Linked DNA regions of Homo sapiens: region 2 is linked to region 1. The links are contacts of gene promoters, found by promoter capture Hi-C in blood cells and fetal thymus (Javierre and others, 2016). All regions are on one chromosome and are shown on one strand. Each heading gives the region's core, a stretch centred on a gene start or on the middle of the fragment in contact. The rest is flanking DNA. Distances are from core to core; before and after follow the strand shown.

The links. The method cuts DNA at HindIII sites, captures the fragments that hold promoters and counts their contacts. A CHiCAGO score of 5 or more calls a contact.
Region 2: a fragment that was not itself captured here is called in contact with the fragment with the promoter of MBNL2 in region 1 in 1 of 17 cell types (fetal thymus); the score reaches 5.0 in fetal thymus.

Annotation. Positions count from the first base shown.
Region 1 is chr13:97,221,083-97,226,879 of GRCh38, reverse strand. It overlaps MBNL2 (muscleblind like splicing regulator 2), which reads right to left and starts at 4,547. Exons shown (of 9, transcript NM_001382683.1): 1 at 4,349-4,547. RefSeq lists an enhancer at 4,466-4,525. The HindIII fragment of the contact is 4,024 bases long and covers 4,174-5,797 here.
Region 2 is chr13:99,500,510-99,506,306 of GRCh38, reverse strand. It overlaps TM9SF2 (transmembrane 9 superfamily member 2), which reads right to left and starts at 4,835. Exons shown (of 17, transcript NM_004800.3): 1 at 4,530-4,835. The coding sequence starts at 4,700. It overlaps LINC00449 (long intergenic non-protein coding RNA 449), which reads left to right and starts at 5,244. Exons shown (of 2, transcript NR_133664.1): 1 at 5,244-5,797. RefSeq lists enhancers at 4,455-5,043, 4,950-5,129. The HindIII fragment of the contact is 228 bases long and covers 3,007-3,234 here.

The sequences.
Region 1 (5,797 bases), core at 3,298-5,797:
GCTGGTATTTACAGCTTTTTAGATGATATGTCCATTTTCCCCAGGCACTTTGGGGCCAAAACTCAGTATGCTGAGACTCAGAAATTGCTCTCAGTAGCTTCATATTTTGATTTTTTTTTGCACCATTCTTATCTATCTATTGCTCATCTGACATCTTTATATGTTATTTAAACAGTACTTATCTGGAGAAATATAACAGAGGTCAAGAAAGTACATACATACAGATACCTAAAACTCAAAAGTCCATCTCTTGTTCTCCCCCAATCACTAAAACTGCCCCAAGCCTAAAATTAATCTGATGGTTAACAATGCTAAATTAATATTAGCCAATAAAGTTATTCAAGTCTTTGAAACTTACAATTTTGCATCATTTATTTTTGTACACACACACAAAGGCAGGTATTAGGTTACTGAGTTGGGTTTCTCACCAAATAGCAAAAGCCAGGGAAGCCCAGAGGTGTTTAATAAACACTTGTTGACTGATTGATGGAATATACTACCTAGTATAATTCAGACAATGCATTCTTTGTCAAAACACTAAGGTAAATTATTGAGTCCACTTTTATTACCAAGCGTTTCTGCTGTATTGAGGAGGGCAGGCCAGCCCAAAACTCGTCCATCAGCCTCAGAGCTCAGGTTTACAAAAGAAACCCTTAGGCCTTACCTTTCACACCTGTTTTTACTCTCAGCAGAGGAGGCCGGGACTGGTCTCCATAAACAACTGTGTAGTTGGAGCCGTGCAGTCGGAGGCCCAGGCCTGATGCAGACCCAGCCACGCAGCACCTTTGGCTCTTTACTACGAATATTATCACGGCTGCAACAAATAGTTTGTGCACATTTTTTAAAAGAAAAAAAAAACTGAGAAGAGTATAAAACTGGAGAAAAAAAAATAGTATGTTAACTAATTTACAAAGCCCGGTTAAGTCTTCCTGCCTCATTCTTCTGAGAGAAACCAAAGCATTAAAATATCAAGCTCTTTGCTCTCCCCAGCAGTGGACATCCATGCTCATCCAGTTGAGTCGACCCTTCCGGAAAGGATGCCTGGGCCCATGACACCTTTACTTCTCTTTGCAGCTATTTCCTGCCTTTCTTTGCTAGGCCTTTAGCTTGGGTCTTGAGCAGATTTCGTGAACAGGGCGAACTGTCCTCTCCTGTTCTGCCATGCCCCAGGGATCTGTGCTTGCCTGGCCTGACTCTTGACCTGCAGCTCTCTCTGGGCTTTCTTGCTTGTTGATTTTTATGCCCACACCTCCCTACCTTTTTATAACCCCCTTTATCTCCACTGCCCACCTGCCCCCTAGAGTTGCCAGGTTTCTCTGCTTGGCACAACCCAGCCAGCTCTGACATGTAGCTGTACCTGAAGATGGTAAAGGCCCCCAAAACTATGTTTTCAACAACCAACATGTCTTGTAGTTATCCACCTTTTCCCGAATCAGAATCCTTCACCCCTTGCAATGTTGCCAACCTATTTCTATGTTGATAATCTGTTTTGTCATTTTGGAAATGTAAACAAATCAGTATACCTTCCTTTTCATCTTTTTCTTGTTATCGGTAGGAAAGTACAGGAAAAAAGGAAGAGAAAATGCATGAGAGATTGAACCTACTTATTCTACTATAAGGAATTCTCTTAAGCTCAGCATCTAAATCCTCTTTTCCCAATTCTTGCTTGGAATCTTGAGTACCTGATCTTGAATTTCTATGGCACTCCCTGAGCGCGGGACTGGCTGGTAGCCATGTGATATTGATTTGTTTTCACCATAGCAACAGCAAATTGAAACAACTAGCAGAGAGAAGGCAGGCTGTTAACCAGTAAAGCTACCTAACCAGTATATTTCACAAGCATATTTTTCTCCTTCCCTCTTGTTTTTTCTCTTATTTACTCCACTTTCACAAATTTAACACAAAAGTCAAAGGAAAAACAGCATTAAATGTTTTGGGCACTACAAGGCCTGTGGCCAGAATAGTGTGCTTTGCAGAGCTTCTAGTATATTAGATTAGATCGATGGAAAAAATGCAAACAACAACGCTTTGATTTCCTTGGAAATTTCATTTGTTGAACTAAGAAAAAGTATCCCTAAAAAATTTACATGAGCACAAAGTAGAGTGAAGGGTTTTGTGTATATGACTATGTATCTTAATACTCTAAGGTGTTTGCCAACAGTTTCTTAATACCGAGGTTTTATCCCTTTGTACTTTAAATAGCTCAATGTGCCAAGAGACAAACAACTTTTTTTTTTTTTTTTTTTTTTTTGGTAAAAGGTCAAGGTCTCAAAATGCTAAATGATGAGGGAAAGTGTAGCAAGTATGATTCAATTCTATTAAAAGACAGAAAAATCAAGGTAGGCACTTGCTCAAAACTACGTGAGTAGTCAGAGAGGAGACACAAATTAGCTTTGGGAACTCCCGAGAACTCCAATGTGCTCCAGTCAAAATCTTTTTTAAAAGGTTCCTTTGTAAACATTACCCTTCCCCCGATCTCTGTGACCAAGGTTGCCACCTGTGACATGGATTTGCAGCCTGCAGTATTGTACTTCCCCTGCTTGGGGCCATCTGTGCTAGGACATGATGATTTTTCTATGAAAGCAGCTGTTCTCACCATCACAACCAGCCTTGAACTTGGTGGCACAACCTGGATCCTAAATAGTGGCTCTGGAGCAACTGGGAATAGGGCCCCGGGGACCATCCACCCAGGTGGCAGCGCTGGGCTGCACCAAGGGGGAGTCAGGCCAGAAAAAAAGCTTTGCCCTGCTCCCTGCTGCTTTTTGCCAGCCCAGCCAGAAGCCCTGCAGAAAACCTGTGCTGACCGGCCCGACATGTGGCAGGTACAAGAAGATGCCCTATTTATGAGGGGACAGGTTTACAATTTACAAAAGACAGGCGAAAATATAAAGACATAACTTAAGTCCTGCCAGTGGGGAGTTAGAATGTTCCTGGCCAGGACATAAAGAAATATTCCTCTCCACAAGCTCGAATAAAGGAACACACAGCAGAAATAGTTGGGGGATGACGTCAGAAGTTCTGGGCTAGTGTCCTGCACTTCTCCTTGAAAGTAAAAACAGTGGGTCTAGAAGAATCTACGTGGCATTGCCCTTATTTAAATGAGTAGTTCTACTGCTCCTTGCAAAACAAGTAGGATAGCTGAAGAAACTTCCTCTTATTTAAAGATTATAAGAATGTTCCCCCTGCCTTTTTTAAAAACCTTATTGTCCCCAAAACACACACATTACCCAATTAACAAATAGCTTTCCACTTAACCTTTGTCTTTTAAAGGGACAGTAATGTTTCTTGTAGAACATTCAAGGTGGTGGTGGTTAGGCAAGTCAGATTTTTTTCTTCGCTTCAGTGCTTGCTAACTATTCTAAAAATGTTACACATTTATTGTAAACACATGCTTCCGAGGCCTAACAAAAAAGCACAGTTTCCTCATGCCTGGCAGAAATTTAAAACGGAAAAGGGCAGAAAGAATTCTTTAGCAAATATATCCTTTCCTTCTCCTGGGCCAAGTGTGTTAAAAATAAATCTTCTCCATCATTTCTCACTGCTGCTTCTCAGCGAGAAAGTTGATATGGTTCGGCATAGTGAAAACACAGCTTTAAAAGCTAGCCTGCCCTCATTAAATTATTCTGCTGGCTGTGTGTTCTCATTAAAAATGCATAAAGATCAGATAATTGCAGTAAGCATTATTAACCCAGCTTTACTTTTGAATATAATGGTTCCACTTTTAAGCTGGAAACAAAGGCTCAGACATGCCAGGAAAAGAAATGTAAACATTGAACTACAGTATCGAAAACTTGCCAGAAAGCTACCTCTTGCTAGGTTGTTTAAAATGTGCTTTTGAAACTCAATTAAAGCTGTAGCATTGTAGAGCTAGGTAGGTCCCTAATTTTTAATAAATAGACACATACGTTTGGCCAAACATTCAACCGATGATTATTTACCATGAATTTTTTTTTAATCCTTAATTGCAAGTCTGTTTTCAAATAATAGGATCCATGTAAACTTTATCTATTTGGGAACTAGCTATGGCAATATAACAATTTTTCACAGCAAGAAAATAAGATTGCTCCAAAGAATTCAAATGGTTTTTAAAAAATAATATAATAAATGAATCGATTCTTTGCATAAAAACTCGATTTCTTGCCTCACCCCAAACAGGCGGCATAGATTCAAGCTTTGCCATTTCTTTTTCTCAAATCAAAATGTTACGTAAAACTCCAGGGTCCCCCGCAAGTATTACAATTGAATTAGTGGAATCCAGTTTCCCTGGCTCCCGTAAGCAGCACACATGGAATGCAGCATACTGCAGCAAACTCTTTAAACATTCAAAAAAGGGGGGCGATTCTCCTACCTTGTTTAGCTCTGCCTGTCCTTCCCATTTACAGTAACCCCAGGAACATCTGGCAGAACCAAGTGGCCGAGGCTTCTCCACCGCATCATGAGAAAGAAACTTCCATGTAAATAGTTCTCATTCCCTGTTTATTGTACTCTGAAAGCCGTCTGCCGTATCTGGAAAATTTTACCTTCAGATGATGAAGCAAAGACAGTCTAAACTCTGTTGCTGTAAGCTGCAGCCCTTCCTTCCGACAAATCCCTCCCAGCCGGGGCCAGCCAATCCCCAGCCAGCTCGTCAGCCCTACTCGTCTGAAACTGGCCCTAATAGGATGACTGACACAGTAACACAGCACTTGCAGTGTGTAAAAACAGTGCATCCATACTGATGAAAGAGGAATTTCCCTCTCAGAAGAAAGCAATCATAGCACCAAGACAAAGTGGCACATAATTGGCAGAGCAGAGAGAGGGGTAGCTCAAGAAAACACCCTTGAAGACAGCCAGCTCGAAGCCAGGAGCTTCACCGTGAACACTTGGGAAAATGTGAAACTCCGCAGATTCCAAAGAAATCCAGGTTGTACATGAAACTGAAGTCCTTGGACTATCTGACAAAGCATATGTATATGTTTTTTAAAGGAAAAATAATTCAACGTCTGCCATGGCAGTTAATACCTTACAAAACATTTACATATTTCCATTATTGAGGAAGAATGTGCTAGCCCAAGTGCGTATTCAAAATCAAAACATGCTTATAGCTCTGGCACACACAGGTTTCCTGTATAACATCTGTTATTGCAGTGGTTAATTACTGCGGCCCATTTATCTTTCGTCTAAGTTTTCAGACCACTTGGGACTTCGATTAGGGAATGCTGGACAATAAAATTGATATCTATACACTACCCTTTTCTACTCTTGGCAGGCACCCACGAGAGGATTAGGTGTGCTTTAACCATCTTAGATGCCATTTGATAAATACTGTGCATTGGCTCACATTATCGTTAATGAAGCAATGATTATAGGAAGATGTTTACTGTTGAATACAAGGGGTACATGATCCAAGGGCCCCCATGAGGTGCCATTCCACAAAAGATGTTCTAGGAGGTGCTGGAGTTTCCTGAGATAAAGCAGAAGAAGAGAAAGTTTAGGAAGGGTTATTTATTTATTTATTTATTTATTTATTTCCCAGTCTACAGCATTTCTGTATGCCTTGAAAACAAAAACTCAAAAACATATGGCATTGAGCAAACACAACAAGCATACATTTTCCTCCCCTAAATACCACATTTTGAGAAAAAAAAAGTATGATGATTACATGATGAGACCAAGACAGAACAAAGCCTTTATTCATCTGAAAGGTTGAACCCAATGCACGATTTTTATAAGCAACTGTTCAGCGCATCTGTAATGAAGCAACAGAATGCAATGGAATGCTTTCTTTTTATTTTGCCATTGCATCTTAAAAACATAA
Region 2 (5,797 bases), core at 1,871-4,370, 2.3 Mb before region 1:
ACACATACAGATTTTTTTTCTTTAAGTATTTCAAAATCTTCAAACTACTTCTATGGTCAAATTAAAACAGGTACATATATATTCATTCTGTGTCCGTTCAGATCAACATTCAGGACTATTTTCTTAAAGCTGACTCATTCCAATATTTATACACAACTGCTCCCAGAATAACAAACACAACTTATAAAATGCTTCTAAAAATAACTACCAAGAAAGGAAAGTATGACTGAGTAATTTTCCTTTTTATTAAAAAGTTGTTAAACTAATTCATTTAAACATTGTTTTTAACCACTAGGGGGTATAATTGGTCATTTTTCCTTACAGCAAAGGAAAAAAAATCTTAATCTTTCATCTAAGAACGTGATCTATCCATCAAACAGTAAAAAAGTGGCAGACATTTTGGAGAATTAATACTATTTTTAGTTCTTAGTTCTGAATTCTGGTTGACAACCCAGTAATTACTTGAAAGTTGAAAGCAGCAAAGGTGAACTGCTCACTAATCTTCACCTCTTAGCCATCAGAATGCCACTCGGCACACTAAGATTTGATTTAAAGCTAAAAAGCACAAAGCTAACTGAAATAGTCAAAACTTTTACAAACTAAATTAGAACTGTGGATTTTATCCTGGAATATCTAGTCACTTATAATCAGGGCTTTATTCTACTTATTTCAGTCACACAGTGTCCCTTGATTTTAAGAAAGTAAAGTGAATTCTACAGGAAAGGAATACCATAGCTCAATCTTTTATTACTATGGTTTCAAAACGTAACAAAATAAGGCAAATAAAAGAAAAATATTAAAAGACACAGAAATTTCAATAGCAATGAAAGTAAAACATTTAAAAAGTGTACAGGCTGGGCGTGGTGGCTCACGCCTACAATCCCAACACTTTGGGAGGCTGAAGTGGGTGAATCACCTGAGAGCTCAGGAGTTCGAGACAAGCCTGGCCAACGTGGTGAAACCCCATCTCTACTAAAAATACAAAAATTAGCCGGGCATGGTGGCAGGCGCCTGTAATCCCAGCTACTCAGGGGGCTGAGGCAGGATAATTGCTTAAACTCAGGAGGTGGAGGTTACAGTGAGCCAAGATCGTGCCACTGCACTCCGGCCTGGGTGATAAGAGCAAAACTCCGTCTCAAAAAAAAAAAAAAAAAGTCTTAGGGACCATCACATCACTATTAAATTGATAAATAAAAATTAAAATGATGTGGCAACACAAGGTATTATTTAGTTAAAGGAAATCAAACCTATCATTGTTGAAAGAAATCTGGCAATACTAAACAGAACTAAAAACTTCTTCTTGTCTTTACCTAGAATTTTATATTTGGGGATATGCAAATAATTACTGCTAAATACACTGTAGCAAAGCTATTCATAATAGAGAAAAATTGGGCCCAATCTAAAGGCCCTACAAGTAAGAATGGTCAGGCAAACCACAGATTGTACAGGAACAGAATGAAATAGTATCGGCTATAAAAAGCAATAAGAATGTGCACCTCCTCAATATCCAAATGCACGCACATGTAAAATAAGTTAAAAAAAGGAGGCCATGAAAACATACTCACAGTATCTATGAAGGCTAAGAAAATTAATCAGAAGTTACAGCAATATAAATAGAATTTTATATTCACTGGACTCCTGTTTCTCTGCCAGTAAATTCAACATAAGATAATTTTTAAAGAGAGAAAATTACTAAATCCTCAGCATTCTTCTGATTCTCTCTCAATTTACATCCTGAGCTAAATGCATGAGACAAACTTTACAGTACATAAAAACACTCTACTACCTAAATTATATATAAGTTGAAGATATATTTGTTTCATCTCTACACTATCACAACAATGACAAATATTGCACTTTTCCTCTAAGAAATGCAAAATACCTTTCAAGGGGAATATGTCATAATCAAATATGATTATCCCTATTTTACAGATGGAAAAACTGTTGGTAACAGTATCAATGACCTGCCCAATTTCTCCAACTTCAGATTCACTAACTTAACAGCATCTTTTGGAAAAAATTATTTCCATTTCACAACTCTCATTTCTAATTTTTAAAAGAAGTTCCTTCCACTTTTCTGAATAATGTGTACAAGACTGTCCTCCTTAACAAATACGAAATAGATGAGAATAAATTATTAACATCCTGATTGAAGTAATACAAATTTCAACTGTTTACTGTTATTTATAGCATCTTCTTTGAAAGGCAAAGAAAATAAATATTAAAGTGTATTTCAAATTCTCTACACCAGTTAGTCATATCGCAGGAAAAAAGCTGAAAGTACACCCTCCTGCTCTTCTAAGAGTTGTTTCCATTAACCAGATGTGAGTGTAGCTGGCAATAAAGATAAAAATCCAAACATTTCGGAAAAATGATCTGCTCTGCCTGTTTTATCCCTATACCTATGAAAATTAAACATCCAAAATGACTCCCAAGATTAACTAAAAAATAACTAGAATACAACCTAGCCACTTACCAAAGGACCTGTTGAGAAAACAATCATCTAACTGGAAGACCACCTATAAGTTTCACTTATTCATTTTCTAAGTCCATCTCAAATGTCACTTCTTCTTCTTTTTTTTTTTTTTTTTTTTTTTGAGACAAAGTCTCGCTCTGTTGCCCAGGCTGGAGTGCAATGGCGCGATCTCAGCTCACTGCAACCTCCACCTCCAGAGTTCAAGCGATTCTTCCTGCCTCAGCCTCCCGAGTAGCTGGGATTACAGATGCCCGCCACCACGCCCAGCTAATTTTTGTATTTTTAGTAGAGACGCGGTTTCACCATATTGGCCAGGCTGGTCTTAAACTCCTGACTTCAGGTGATCCACCCGCCTCGGCCTCCCAATGTGTTGGGATTACAGGCGTGAGCCACCACACCTGGCCCTGTCACTTCTTCTATAGAGCTTTCCCTAAAGACTCTAGTCCACTGATGTTTCCTCATTTTGTTTTAGCACACTTTGGACATCATCCTGTGTAACAGATCAGATTTCAATAATCTGTTCATAAGCTTATGTCCCTTACTTTGAGGTTCCCAGAGGGCAGGAAATATATTTTTCATCTTTGAGGCACTAGGAATAGAATATACAACTGCTGTTAAAGTAAGACCAAACACTAGGCCTTAAAGGTTGGTTACTAAAATATTTAATGGAAAAACCAGTGTACTTGCAAGTCTAGATCTTCCACTTGGAAGCACAACAACAGTCTTTCAGTCAGAATCCTCAAAAAGGAGTGAAAGCTTCTTGCACTGCAGAGTATGAACTTAAGTACTGAAACACTAACTGCAGACTTGAGTAAACCTTAAATATCCTTAGATATTTTTTCAGATACAAGGTTTTGCACAGATGTATAAACATGTCATTCAAGATAGCTGACAACCTAAAAAGAAACTGCAAAATGTTATGAAAAATTTAAAGCTTATCTAATGCCCTAAAATAACCTCAAAATTCACAGCTATAGTAAAGCTAACTGTAATAAACACCAGCTTAAAAAAATCAAACTTAATAAATAAGCCTATTTATAGATTGTAAACGTTTGTTGAACGATTATTTGAATTGTTGAAATCATTAAAGGTTTCAAAGAGATCCTCATCCCCCAAATGTTAAGTTTTAAATAAACTTAACGAAATAATTGTGTATGTATACTGTAAAGCCCTACACCATATAACCTAAAAGCAGGTTACTTTATTTACGCCTCTTTTACTAGCAATTAAACTGAAAACCTTGAGTGTGAATGTTGTAAGAGATCAAAGTTTTCAAGACTTGCCCTAGGAAAACACCAGTTTCTCCCACCATTTGCCCCTTTTAAGTGTTTAAAACCATCTCAGAGAAAATAGTGAGACCTCGTATCTTTTTTTGTGTATTAAAATCTTTTACACTTAAAACTCAGAAATCAAGTGCCTCAACCATTACAGCAACTCTTTATTAATGCACTTTGTGTGGCTCTGGGTGTTATACTCCACAAATAAGGAACCAACTTCTAATTGTGAAGCGAGATATCAAAGTCCTAGAAAGAACAAGCTCTCCTAACCAACTAGAAGGTTCCAGGAAAATGCAATTAAACAGGAAGCAATGAAGTTAAAAGCTAATGGAAACTGTTAACTAGGCTGAGTGTTGCTCACATGTAGGGAGTCGGTCACCCGCTTCCTCAGCGTACATGTTACAGGGCTGTGAGCGAACACTCACGCGTGGACCTGCATACATCCAACTCCAAAGCTCTGAGGCGTGAAGCCCAACTCCAAGGGCGCTCCACACGGTCCCTGTTCCAGGAAAACTGAATACAGCTGCTCGTGCCACTTGGCCCGCAAGACGGGAGGCGAGTCTGAGGCCCACTGCGTCCTCCAGAAACTACCCTTGCAAGGGCTGTTTCAGAGCCCCCCACCCACAGCCCAGCAGACCCCAAAAGCTTCTGGGGAAACTCAACCCCACCCGCTGCTACGCCCCCTTCCCTCGCTCCCACCCGAGGATCAGCTCCCCCGGATAGGGACGACTTCCCCTTCCAACAGTGCATCAGAGGGCTCGTCAGGCCTCACCCACCTTGCACTCGTCGCTCTTTTTTTCTTCGTCGCAGAAGTTGACGGGCGCCAGGCCGGGCAGGTAGAAAGCGCCGCTCCGGCGCGGGCCAGGAACCGCCCCCAGCAGGAGCAGCGACAGCAGCAACAGCCGCGGCCACCGAGGTGGAGACAACACCGGCAGCCTCGCGCTCATGATAGTTGTTTCGGGGAAAGGGCAATCAAACCTAGGGGGTCAAGAGGGAAGGAGGGGTGGGGAGTCTCGGAGACGACTACAAGGCCGCCAGAGATAAAGGAAGCCGGCCCCCAGAAGGCTAGTTCCGGTTGCGCTAGGAGACACCCCGGGTCCCGCAACAGAAACCGAAGCGGACCGCAACAGAGCATGCGCACCGCCGTCTGCACATGCTCAGTGAGAACGGTCGCAGGCACCAGGAGGAGTTTCCGGGAGGGAGCGGGGGCGAAATCCACTTTCCGGGTTTTCCGCGCGCCAGCTGAGGTGGTTGCTGGGAGAGGTGGTTGCTGGGAGAGCTGTTCCGGCGCTCACGTTCCAATTCCAAATTACAAATTCCGATCTAGAGCTCCCACGCTTGGGGGCTGTGGAGCGCTCGCCAGCCGCTCCCCGTTTGCTGCTGGGTCTTACGAAGTTCTCATATCCATCATACAGTTTCTTTGTCACACTGTCCGCGGCACGCCAGTCCCTATGACAGAAAGCACCTGCGGTCTGTCTGGAGGCGGAGTTGGTGGCGGAGAGAAAAAGTTCTGGAGACACCTGGTTGGGAGCAGGCTAAGGAAACAAATGGGGAGGAATTAGCCACAAATCCTCAAATAGACAGCTACTCAAAGGCATCTTCACGGACAATTTCCAAGCATTGGATGCAGTGGTGCATTCTTGCATTGGGCAGTGATTGTGTGCACACATCTCTTTAAGGGAGAGTGGAAATGGGGTGAGGAGGAAAATGGGAGTAGGATAGAGTGTAGCGTTGACATTTATTTTCTTTAAAGGAAGACCCGAGCATACCTGAGAGCTCAGTGAAGAAAGTAGTTCTGGCGAATCGGATTAATATGGTATGATCAGCCTTTAGCAAGATTCTATCACTTTTCCCACTGATGATGTGAGACGGTGTCCGCGTGTGTAAGTGCACACACGTGTGTGTGTGTGTGTGTTGCATCTTCTGAGTATTTTTCAAGGAGAAGCTTTTTAGTGATCTGAAAAAGTCAATTCAGTTAGCCACTAGAGTTCAATCAAAAACTTCGGAAGAGTGCATCATCTTAAAGTACATAAGAGAGAATCAT